Linked DNA regions of Homo sapiens: regions 2 and 3 are each linked to region 1. The links are contacts of gene promoters, found by promoter capture Hi-C in blood cells and fetal thymus (Javierre and others, 2016). All regions are on one chromosome and are shown on one strand. Each heading gives the region's core, a stretch centred on a gene start or on the middle of the fragment in contact. The rest is flanking DNA. Distances are from core to core; before and after follow the strand shown. Region 1 holds the start of SLC25A51 (solute carrier family 25 member 51). Region 2 overlaps LOC105376041 (a long non-coding RNA gene). Region 3 holds the start of ANKRD18A (ankyrin repeat domain 18A).

The links. Contacts are between HindIII fragments. The CHiCAGO score rates a contact against its expected background, and 5 or more counts as called.
Region 2: a contact is called between a fragment that was not itself captured here and the fragment with the promoter of SLC25A51 in region 1, in 8 of 17 cell types (naive CD8 T cells, megakaryocytes, naive B cells and 5 more). The highest score is 7.7, in naive CD8 T cells.
Region 3: a contact is called between the fragment with the promoter of ANKRD18A here and the fragment with the promoter of SLC25A51 in region 1, in 5 of 17 cell types (activated CD4 T cells, total CD4 T cells, total CD8 T cells and 2 more). The highest score is 11.7, in activated CD4 T cells.

What each region holds. Positions count from the first base shown.
Region 1 is chr9:37,901,759-37,905,667 of GRCh38, forward strand. SLC25A51 (solute carrier family 25 member 51) reads right to left here and starts at 2,369. Exons shown (of 3, transcript NM_033412.4): 1 at 2,310-2,369. It also overlaps the pseudogene PAICSP1. RefSeq lists a silencer at 1,810-2,569. The HindIII fragment of the contact is 4,581 bases long and covers 1,012-3,909 here.
Region 2 is chr9:38,439,848-38,443,540 of GRCh38, forward strand. All of the region lies in intron 4 of LOC105376041 (a long non-coding RNA gene), which reads left to right. Among named protein-coding and RNA genes, the nearest start is that of IGFBPL1, 17 kb to the left of the region's middle. RefSeq lists an enhancer at 3,345-3,639. The HindIII fragment of the contact is 854 bases long and covers 955-1,808 here.
Region 3 is chr9:38,618,445-38,622,154 of GRCh38, forward strand. It overlaps ANKRD18A (ankyrin repeat domain 18A), which reads right to left and starts at 2,152. Exons shown (of 16, transcript NM_147195.4): 1 at 1,636-2,152. The coding sequence starts at 1,841. It overlaps FAM201A (family with sequence similarity 201 member A), which reads left to right and starts at 2,644. Exons shown (of 2, transcript NR_027294.1): 1 at 2,644-2,921; 2 at 3,388-3,710. RefSeq lists enhancers at 2,798-2,917, 3,570-3,710. The HindIII fragment of the contact is 5,020 bases long and covers 1-3,710 here.

The sequences.
Region 1 (3,909 bases), core at 1,119-3,618:
AACTTCAAGATATGTTCTAGACACTGAAGTCTGTTAGGGTATTGAGTTTGATAATTATTAGTTCTACTACATCCTTACTTTTTACTGATTCAGCTGATAGGTATGAGTTAAAAACTCTTATTAGTACACTTACAAGCTAAGATTAATCAATATTTGAAGTCCTAAAACTTAGTCTAGAAATGCTTGATACCTATGTAATGCTTTGCACTTCTTCAGTTTCAGAATTAAACAATGTTAAATCAACAAGAATATTTAGATTAATGTACATGATTACATGATATTGTGACAATTTATGAATGTCAAAACCATTTTATTTTTACATACGGAGCACACAAAATATTTTAAATTCTAAAGTCACCACCTACAAGCTGTTTACACATGCTCCTTGACAGTACAAGCCAAGTTATTTGTGTACTTGAACAACAATAAAAATTTTGTCCATGTTCACTTTTACTGGAATGTTACTTGTATTACTTTCTGAAATTTTGCAAATAAAGGTTAGTTTATTTATGACTCTGTGTGAGAATGGGGACTGTTATTAAACAAGCAGAAAACTACAGCTAACAGAAGTTAACCATTTATTGACCACCATATCCAACTATTTTAAGAACATTACTGTACATTGAGATTCTCAGATTTAAAAAATAGGCCTAGATGGGGGAAAAAATGTTATGAAACCCTCCTGGACTTTACAGATTTAAAGCTTTTTCTCTAGTTTAATCCTACACACCAGGATGGTGTGAATATGTTCTTAATTTAGCAATAGAAGGATAATGTGCACAGCATTATTTGGTAGTACAGTTTAGACTTTTGCATGTTTACCTATACTGTGAACATGGTTAAATTTCTTTGCTAAACTGATCTTTATATTTTTATTCATTAATGTGGATAATTCTTTGCAATTTATTGCAAAATTTATTTACCATAACTTTACGCTTGTTTGCTACGTAAAACTATCTCATCATAAGGGAGCAGTTAATGAACTTGATTTTCAAGCAACTACAAGTGTCAAGCTTCTGTGACTAAGAAAACAGTGTAAAGTCTAAAACCTTATTATAATTTACAGCCTACATGGATCAGCATGATACAGATATGATCCTAGCACAAAGGTCTCTGCAAAAACTGGGGAGAGGGTGACTCCAATTCTCAAAGGATGTGAATTTCCACTAGTCAGCAGGTCTGAGTCAGCATTCAGAACAAGATCAGCCTGGGTCTAGTCCTAGTTACGACACTAGCTTGCCAATATAAAGACAAAGCAATATCTGATTTTAAAATCCACTGATCTGAGTTTGCTTTCATTTACCAAACGAGAGATCAGATGAGTCAACTCCTAGCTTGTTTTCCCCTGAGATGCGCTAAGGGTGATTCCAGTTCCAAAGCGGTAACCTGTGCTCTAAACCACTATGGGACCTCAAGAGTCCTAGCACCTTTTGATCCTATGGAATCCTTTCAAAGCACGGGCAGAGGCGGCTCAAAATGGCAAGGTCACTATACATTTCAAGGGCTTCTGTTTCAGAGATTACAAGTAGAGAAAAACAGAAGGTGGGAATTAAGATCAGCTAGGTAGAGCTGTGAGATGCAAAACAAAGGTTTTGCAGGAAGTTGAGGTGCTGACATACTCCATCTAGCTAAACTGAACACCAAATAATGGATGGAGACTAACACCACCAACACCATCGTCCCCGAAAATCCTTGTACAAGTGAGCTTCCTACAACGCGATGCAATATGCTGTCGCAGAACAAGCACTGCCAGGCTATGTAGCTGAACTTACCGTTCTCCAGGCGTCCATTTCCCCAACCTGTGAAAGGCGGGGAGGGGGTTGGACAAGATCACTAAGTCCTCTTCCGTTTCTGACACTTCACAGTCAGGGGTCCCGAGGTGAGGCCGAAATCCCAGTCTCCCGGGACGCAGAGGCCCTTGCGCGGTGCCATCCCCGCTGTCCCCCGGGCGCAGGCAGCTCCCGGCTCCTCCCCGCCCCTGCGGTTCCTGTGCACCAGGGAGGTGCCTCCCCAGCCCAGGGCGCGCCCGAATGAAGGGACAGCGCCTTCGCGGGAAAGGTCGCCCAGCAGCCGGACAAACACCCGCGGCAGGCGGGGGAGCCCGGAGCCGAGGAGGCTCAGAACTGATTCCGCCCGCGCCGCCTGGGTGGGGCCCGCAGGGACCGGGCCAGGGCAGCCGGAGCGCGCAGAAGACAGGGATGGGCCCCCAGGGCGGCAGCCTGCCCCAGCGGGCCCTTCAGCGCGTTTCCCCTCCCTCCAACCTCATGCGAAGAAAGCCCGGTGCTTCCCCACGCTCGTCCCACACTCACCCATCAGCGCCGGCGTCCCGCAGGACGGCTAGCGAGCCGGGGCCCGCGCAGGCGCAGACTGTGACCGACCCCGAGGTTGGGGCGCAGCGCGACGCGCTGGGCGCTGTTGGGGTCACGTGAGGGAGACACCGCCCCGCCCCGCCTCCCCTCCCTCGGCCCGCGGCCCGCCAGATGTCGCCAGCCTACTTCTCCTGGCCGCAGGCCGCCGCGGCGGGGCAGGTAGAGGGCCACGCCAGCACACCTGTCAGGATGCGGGCTCCGCTAGCCACCATGCTTCACCCTTGATGCCGTACGGTGGCCTCAGCGTGCCAGAAACAGCCAACGCGTTCTCTAGCGCGCTGCCTGCAGGGGGCGTCTGGGCATTGTCGGTTTTAGGGGCCTTGTCGGTTCTGCGGGGCGAGCGCCTTCGCGGAAAACTCCAAAGTACCCTCTGTGGAGCCTTGTTGAGTATCTTCAAACCTTCAGAGGGACCTTTTATCAGCGACCCATGCCGCAGTTTACAGAAGAACGCTTTGTGCGTGCTTTGGGACGTATGGATCACTTTTAAACTTTTTCCTTTGAAGCTCAGACAGCTTGCGGGGGGCTTGGGAGGAGCGCTGCCCGGGGAGTTAGAAGGCTTGGGTCAAAGTCATAGCCCTCATACTTCTTGAGAGTGACCTTGGGTGAGTCGCTGGACCCTGAGCCCCAAATCTCCGTCTGAAAAGTAACCCATGCCTTGTATGCGTCCTCGGGCTGTTGCAGGAGTCTTTGGAAATGATGGTTCTGACTCTGAGTTGGAAACTGGAACGCACACAACAGATGGGAGGCGTTGAAGGAAACAGAAAGGTCGGCCTGAGGGGAGAGGCGTTTCAGGAGGCTTGCGGATGTGTGAAGTGTGCGCACTGTGCTTGGGGCGAGCCCAAGCAGTAACCCCACCCGAGTGAAGCGTTCTTGGGGGGATCGGCTCCGGGTGGGCGACGTTCCCCGCGTGCCCCCTTCCCCCGAGAGCACTTTGTAGACACTGACTCCAAAAGCGGGTCTGGTCTCTGCCCAGCCCCACTTTGGCTGGCGTGCTTAGGTGCCTCTCGGGAAGCTGGAGACCACCCTCCCCCATTCCAGCAAACGCTCCATTGAGGAACCTACTGCGTGCCAGGTCCTGGGGAGCTTAGCGTCTGATGAAGGATACAACAACAAAAGACTGGAAATTCAGAAGCATGAGGGGACCTCCCCCCTCGAGGGAGAACCAGAGATGGCTTCACAGAGCAGACGTTTGAACTGGGCCTTGGAGGATGGATGAGTGGAATTTGGCCCAGTGGAGAAAGTCATAGCAGCAGGAGATAAGATTGTAAGGGTCAGGTGGTGGGGCTGGATAATGCGAATCTTGACTGTCAGACACAGACACCTGCCATCTAATTAGTACGCGAGGGATAAATTTTGGACTCCGCAGGATAAGGACAAGGCTACACAATGGCTTAGAACAGTTAATCGGGCAACAGTTGGAAAGGGCCTTTGCCTCAAAATTATGTTTGCCCTGTCTTGTGTGAATGCCTATTCAGATGCATTATTTGAAAAATAAATAAACCAGGCAGGCATCCAGCGTGTTCATAAGCATAAATAATTA
Region 2 (3,693 bases), core at 132-2,631, 540 kb after region 1:
CTCACAGGGCAGGGCCCAGCCTGAGCATGTAGTTCAGATTTGTCTACCAGTGAGGGGTGGGGGAGGGGTGTCACTGTCCCCACTAAGGACCCCAGACATGAAACCTTTATCAATGTCTTAATGTCATTGTAGTGCCTGAATATGTTTCCTCTTTGGAAAATATAAGAAGGGTTCAAACTCCAGCTCTGCCAGCCTCTAGCTAAGTGACTTTGGGCTTTTACTTAACCTCTCTGAAGCCTCAGTTTTCTCATCCGTGAAGTGGGAATACATGTTACACAGGTTGTGAAGGGTTAAATGAGACAATAACTATAAGAACCTTATCCAAATGCCCAGCACACAGCACACATTCAATAAACAATGGCTATTATTATTGTTATTTTTATTAAGTGAAAAGAAATGAAAAAGAGTATGGCTTTATTAGACAGTTAAGAAAGAAAGGAGGTAGAAAAGAAAAGTTTTTGTCTTCTTCAACAACCAATTTTTTTTGTGGTAGCACTCTCTGAACTTTTCAGACATGCATGAAAATACCCTCCATGCACATTTTCTAATGTCCGGGGTACCAGCCAGAGCTGACCATTCCTAGCCAGCCATACAGCAAGGTCAAAATGAATGGAGAAGTCAAGGCAAACACAACGAGAACAGAGATTTGGACATACAGAGAAGAAAGAGAGAGGCTCTGGGAGAAAATGAAATAAAAATGGGATGTTTATGTGTGGGCTTGATTGCAGAACTTTTCCTTGATTCTCAGAAGGTCACAGAAAGTGGCAGACATAGAGACAAGCCAACACACAAAGAGAGAAAGGCAGCGGGGCCGCATGTGACACTCTGAGGTGCTGTCAGAGGCAGGCCTGCAGGGGAAAAGGAGAAACCGGGAAACAACCAGAAAGACAGTCAGCAAACTTATGTGGGTTTATGGTAGTCATGGACTTCCTCTTATTTTATTTTAAAAATTTAAGCTTTTTATTATGGAAATATGCAAACCCATGCAAAAGAAAAGGGAATAGTATCATGAACTGCCAGCTTCAACAACTGTCAACACATGGCCAATCTTGTTTCATTGATACTCCCCCATCCCCTCCTCCTCTCCTAGGCAGCCTATTATTTCATCACAGTTTTCATTTTTGTGTTTTTGTTTGAGACAGAGCCTCACTCGTCACCCAGGCTGGAGTGCAGTGGTGCAATCACAGCTCACTGCAGCCTTGGTCTCCCTGGCCCAGGTGATCCCCCCACCTCAGCCTCCTGAATAGCTGGGACCATAGACATGCACCTCTAAGCCCAGCTAAGCCTTTTATTTTTTGTAGAGATGGGGGTCTCCTTGTGTTTCCTTGGTTGGTCTCGAACTCCTAGGCTCAAGCGATCCTCCCCCGTCAGCCTCCCAAAGTGCTGGGATTATAGGCTCGAGCCACCACCCTGCCTGGATTTCATTTTTGAAAAGAATTCTGCTTTCTCCAGGGAATTCTTAAAGTGGTGTACAAGTGATCTGATACAGAAGTTTGTTCTCAAACCTACACAAGCCCCTGCCATTCTCTCATCTTGATTCTGAGAGAGCCCAGACTGCCCTGGCCATAGGAGCTGAAAATTATATTGAAATCAAAACTCGGCAGTCAGAGAGTTCTTTTACGATCATCCAGATTGTTAGCATTCAATGCCTGGCTCCCCAACTTGCTAGCTGTGTAAGTTTGGACAACATTCTAGATCTTTCAGTGCCTCAGTTTCCTCATCTGTGAAATGGGGTGATAATGTACCTTTCCCATAGGGCTGTTGTGAGGATGAAACGAGGTGGTAAACATACTAAATGTTTAAAACAAAGCTTGGCACATAGTAGACCCTCGAGGGATGTTAGCTTTCCATCCACCCGTTTAGGAAACATGAGTGAGTGCCAACTGTTGCCAGAGGTATGGGCAGGAGCTGGGTACAGGGAGCTAAATGAGAAGGGCCTCTGCCCTCGAAGAGCTCCCCATCCAGTGGGGTACACAGGCCTATGAAAAGTTAGCTCCAAACAGTAGACAGGTGGCTGTGAAACTGGGCCGTGTCCCAAGCAGTCCATCCCATCCCCTCAATTCAGAAGTGAGCAAACAGAGACCTATGGGGCCCCTGAGCCTAAGGAGCCACAGTGCTTAGCAGCAGAGCTGGGATGGACTCAAAGTGGATTTTCCTGACTGGGCCTCTTCACATGAGGGCTTCAAAGGAGGTCGGTGGCTCAGGAGGGCACCTGGCCCATGCTAGGCAAAGGTGCTGGGCTTTGGGTCAGTCTTTCTGCAGTAGGGAAGGGTAAGATTGGTCATGGGGCCAGGCATGGGCAGCCGCTCTGGCTCCTGGTTAACCAGGTGGGGACTGCAATTCACTGCACGGTCAGGGGCCCAAAGGTAGTGGAGTCCTTGGCACTTTCAGCCCTAGCAGAAGGCCAGGGATGCCAGCTCGGCTGAGCACAGCCATGCATGGCACTGGACTGGGGCTGGGGGATGGAAGGCAGAGCCTGTGGGGAATGGGAGAGGTCGCCACTGTTTACCAGATGCTCTGGGGACAGAGGAGCAGACAGGGTCCAGGCTCCGAGGGGGTAGAAACGCAACCACTGGCAGTCCCCTTTCAGTTCTGTGAAAGGAAAAACACCTTTCTTTTGTCAGAGCTGTCCAAAAGCGGGGAAAAGATTGAGAAAAGAAGCACTGCTCTTTGGGCATGAGGCCAGGCACTCGACTCTCATAGTATCTCATCCACACAGAGCCCTGGAAGGGGGACACTGGATCCATTTTCAGGATGAGAAGAGTAAGACCCAGAGAGGGGCACAGCTTGCCCACAGTCACACAGCTGGCGCGTGGTGGAGCTGGGACTCACTCTCATGGTCTTCCTGGCTCCAAAGCCCACGCTTTTCCACTGAGCCTGGCTCACTTAGCAAGATGGCAGGGTCGGCCTGGGAGGTACAGGGTTCCTACCCCTGACAGTGCCCAAATGGAGCTTCAGGGCTGCCCTGTGGGGAGGGAGAGTGACAGAGAGTGCAGAGGCATTCACACTTCCCGTGGGTGGGTGCTAGTCTGTGATTCCACTACTTCGAGTGGATGAGGGGCCAGGAGACAGCTCAGCCATATGCAGGCCAAGTACACACAGTGCAGAGTGTATGTCTCCCTGGCACCTGCCCTTCCTGCATTCTCTCCTTCCTTCCTTCCTTCCTTCCTTCACTCACTCATTCATTCAGCAAGCACTTACTTGGATTTATTATGTACCTTGTCTGAAGTCCAGAAGCTCAGGGTAGGGGTTGGGTAAGGGACGGCTGGAATTCACAGTTGAATAAAACGTGTTTCTAGCTTTTGAAAACCTCACAACTGGAAAGCGAGAGATGAGATGTGAAAGGCGTCCCTATAGCATGAAGAAGATGTGATGAGTGCTAGAGAGGACCCTCAGCCAAGTTCAGTGGGGCTGGGAGAGGAGAAGTGGGAGGGAGGAGGGAATGACTTTGGGTCAGGGAGGAGCGAGGAGGAGGGCCCAGAGAGGCGATAAGGTCTGAGCTAAAGTTTCCACCTGACCTCATTTGCTGTTTACACATCTGAGCAGGTCGCGGGTGTTCAGGATCCTGCAGTGTGAAGACACATATTTGCAGAATGCGTCAGAGGCCTTCATGGACAGACGGCCCCCTAGCATCATCTGATAGTCAAGTTTGTTTGTGTTTTCTTTTTCCAAACACTTGGTTGCAACCCATTT
Region 3 (3,710 bases), core at 902-3,401, 720 kb after region 1:
TGGCCACATACCATTCTATGGGTTCTTGTTAACATAAATGCTGGGGAAAAAAAGTGCATGTATCTCTATTTTCTGAAGGTATTTTAATACAATGGAATTGATGGGTAAAGGGCATATACATTTTTAAAATGTGGTAATTATCTCCAAATTATCCACTTGAAAAGTCATCAGCAACTTAAACTTCAAGCAGCAGTGTAAGTGCCACTGCTCTTCATTCTCACAAACACTGTGGATAGAACACAGTCTCACTCCTCTTTTAACTTATCTTATGAGAAACACTAAGGATTTTTTCCTATGTACATAAGTAACTTGTGAATCTGCAAAAAGTGCTTTGCTCACTTCTAGAGTTCTTTTCTTGTGGATTTGATTGGAAAGAATTCCCTGTAAAATAAAGATGTGCTTTTTATCTGTATATATATAACTGATATATATATATAACACATTATATTAGTAATATATACAATTTCTTATACATATAATCAGTAATATGTATTATATATAATAAAGAATAAATTCCCTGTAGGATGAAGATACACTTTTCATCTGAATATATATTTTTATATATTAGTAAAAATATATATAGGAAATATTTTTCGAGTGTGTTATCTTTTGTTAATTTTTTTCTGATACACAGGGGATTTTAATTTTTAGTTTGCTAAATCAACTTTCAGAATGCCTGCTTGCGAGGTCATTCTTACGAAGGCCTTTGTTAACATAAAATGTACCTGTATAAATAAGTCTTTGCGTTTTCTTCTGGTACTTTTTCTCATTTTGCATGTGTAAAAATTTCAGTCTGAATTCCATCAGGAACCCATTTTTGCGACATAAAGTTTCATTAGTTTTCTTCACACAGCAGGCATTTTATTAATAACTCATCTTTTCCTACTCATCTGAAACGTTACCATTATCCATCCCTATGTATATATCTTACATATATTTCAGTGTTTTTGGATTTCCTGTTCTGTTCCATTTATTTATCTGTGTTTTCAGCTGTTAGTAAATAATTAATTGTGGGAATTAATAGCACATTTTGATATCTAGAGGAGCAAGTCTTTTCACTCCATTATAAACATTTTTAAATGTCATCACAATGGTAAGATAGATAGCAAGTGTCATGCAAAAATGATAAAACCTTGATATCTTCATTCAGTTTATGTAAAACTGATAAACATGGAAACAGTTCATATTTTGAGAAAACTGAGTCTTCCCATTCAAGGAACCCACCTCGCGCTTCCCAGTGTCCCTCTAAGAAGCTCCAGTAAAGAACCTGTCTACCTAGGTGGATTCGGATGTAAAACCGACACAGGGTTTTATCTGAGAACTCTTCGCCTACTGAAAAAGGCTCATGGTATTTTTGACAGGGGAATGAGTTCTCATTAGGCACCTCCCTATCATGTATATGGCCCCATGTTTTAAACGTGGATATGCCTAACTTTGTGAGTTAAATCACTCAAATTTTCCACCAAGCGCGACGGACGGGGAATTGCCAGCGACGGAAAGCAGCTGAGGCTCCATTTGGCTCCGCTGCTCCGAGGGTGCCCGGCGCCCTCCAAGGTCCCCGCCCCAGGGGCTGCCGGGCTGCAGGGAAGCCGGGCCTGCGGCCCCCTCCCACCGCGGGCTGAGTCCCCGAGCTACCTGTCTTTTCTGTCGCGGGCGTCCAAGTCCCGGAACCTGCGCGTCAGGCAGCGCTCCACCTCCGCGGCGTCGCCCTTGATGGCAGCCCTGTGGATCTTCCGCAGTTCCCAGTCCCGAATGTCGTAACCCGGACCCGCATACTCTTGGTCCATGGAGCTCAGGAGCGCCTGGCCCAGGCGTCTCCCGAAGCTGAAGAGCTTCCTCATGGTGGCGACTTCTCAGACGCCCACCACCCGCTCCTGAGCCGCGGCGGCTCCTCGTGGCCTTTCCACCCCCACTCCGCCCCAAATCCGCGATCTCCCCCGCAACCCGCGATCCCCCCCGCAACCCGCGATCCACCCCCAAATCCAAGATCCACCCCCAAACCCGCAATGTAGCTCAGAATCCGCGATCCAGCCCGGTCCACCACAGCCTTCAGCAGCGACACTCGCAGACTCCGACCTCTCAGACCGAGTGAGCCCAGCTAAGCCGTTAGGCGCGCGCCTGAACCTCAGCGCTCCGAACTCTCAGACCGAGTGAGTCCCCGCGATGCCAGTTAGGCGCGCGCCTACAACTCAGCGCCAGCCGGGACTCCGGAAGCCGCTCCCAAGCCCTCGTGGCCGGCAGGGGGCACCTGCAGCACGGGCGCACGCGTCGCTGGCTTGCGGGTTCTCCTGGGCTCCCGCGGGACGTCCCGGAATCCCAGGAGTGCATCCCTTCCCGCCTGAGGGCCTGCCTGGCCCTGACTCCCGACCCGCTCCTCCTCCGAAGAGAGATCGGGGCCGCTGACAGGGGCCCTCCGCAGCCACCGGGGATGGGACTGGGGGGTCGGTTCCTGTCCCGGTGCAGCCGCCGCCGGGTAGACCGCCTGGCTTGGCCGCAGCCAGGGCGACATGTAGCCCCGGTTCTGCCAGGCTGGGAGCGCCAGCCATCTTGGGAGTTGCCAGGCAGCTGTCGCCAGCAGGTAGAGGGCGCCTGCAGCTTGGGCGCCCAGGTGGTGGAGCACGGCCTAGGCGGCCTCTGGATCGCGAGTGCACCTGGCCTGAGAGCCCGCCAGGCCCTGCCCCTGCTCGGCTCCTCGTCTGCTGAAGCTCGGGACCTCTAGCCAGTGGCCCTCTGCAGCCACGGGGAATGGGGCTGAGAGCCGGTTCCCGCTGCAGGGCAGACCACCTAGCTCAGCCGCAGCCACAGGGACATCTGGCCCCGGTTCTGAGATGTGGGGAGTGCTGGCGGGCTCGGGGGTTGCCTGGAGGCTGCTGCCTGCACACAGAAGGCGGATGCAGCTTGGGTGCCCAGGCGGGCTGGAGGTGCATGGCCTGGTCGGCCTCGGGATCGCCAGCGCGCCCAGCCTGAGGGCCCCCAGGCCGTGCCTCCCGCCCATTCCTCCACCGGAGGGGGATCGGGGTCGCTGGCATGGGCACTTGGCAGTCACTCCGGATGGGGTTGAGCAGGGGTTCTCAGTTTTCGCCCCTGTGCAGCCGCCGCCGGGCAGAATGCCTGGCTTGGCCGCAGCCACTGCTACACCTAGCGGGTCGGGCGGGCCGGGGGGTGAAAGCGCTGGGAGGCGGGTGCCTTCTCGCCCTGTGGCGCCTCTGGGCCCCACGGCTTGTCGGCCTCCGGCGCGCAGGGCTCCCCAGCATCCTGGGCGCCGGCCCGCTGCCTGCACAAAGTCAACTCAGACAGGATGAACTTCGGTTGCCTTGTCTGGCTGGGCTGCCAGGCGGGGCAGCTGACCTGCTGATGGGGTGACTTTCTTCATCTTCTTGCCCACAGGACAGCGGGCTGGGAAGCCAGGGGCCGCCGGGACCTGGGGCTGGAAACCACATCTGCCCACAGCCGCAGCCTCCTGCACCTGTCATCCTGGCGGCGCCCTGACGTCGGAGAAGCAGCAGGCGCGGAGCTCCTGCAGCGGGCACCGCTGCAGCAACCCGACCCGGCGCAGGCGGCAGTGGAAGGCGGCCTGCTAGCACGGCTCCCGCGGCCCCAGGACCAGGGGTGCGGCCAGCACCGCCCTCACTCCCCGCGTCTCGTGGATATTGCCCTCCCTGGAGGCGGCTGGACCTAAGCGAGGCTCGCAGCGATCGGCCCCGCGAAGA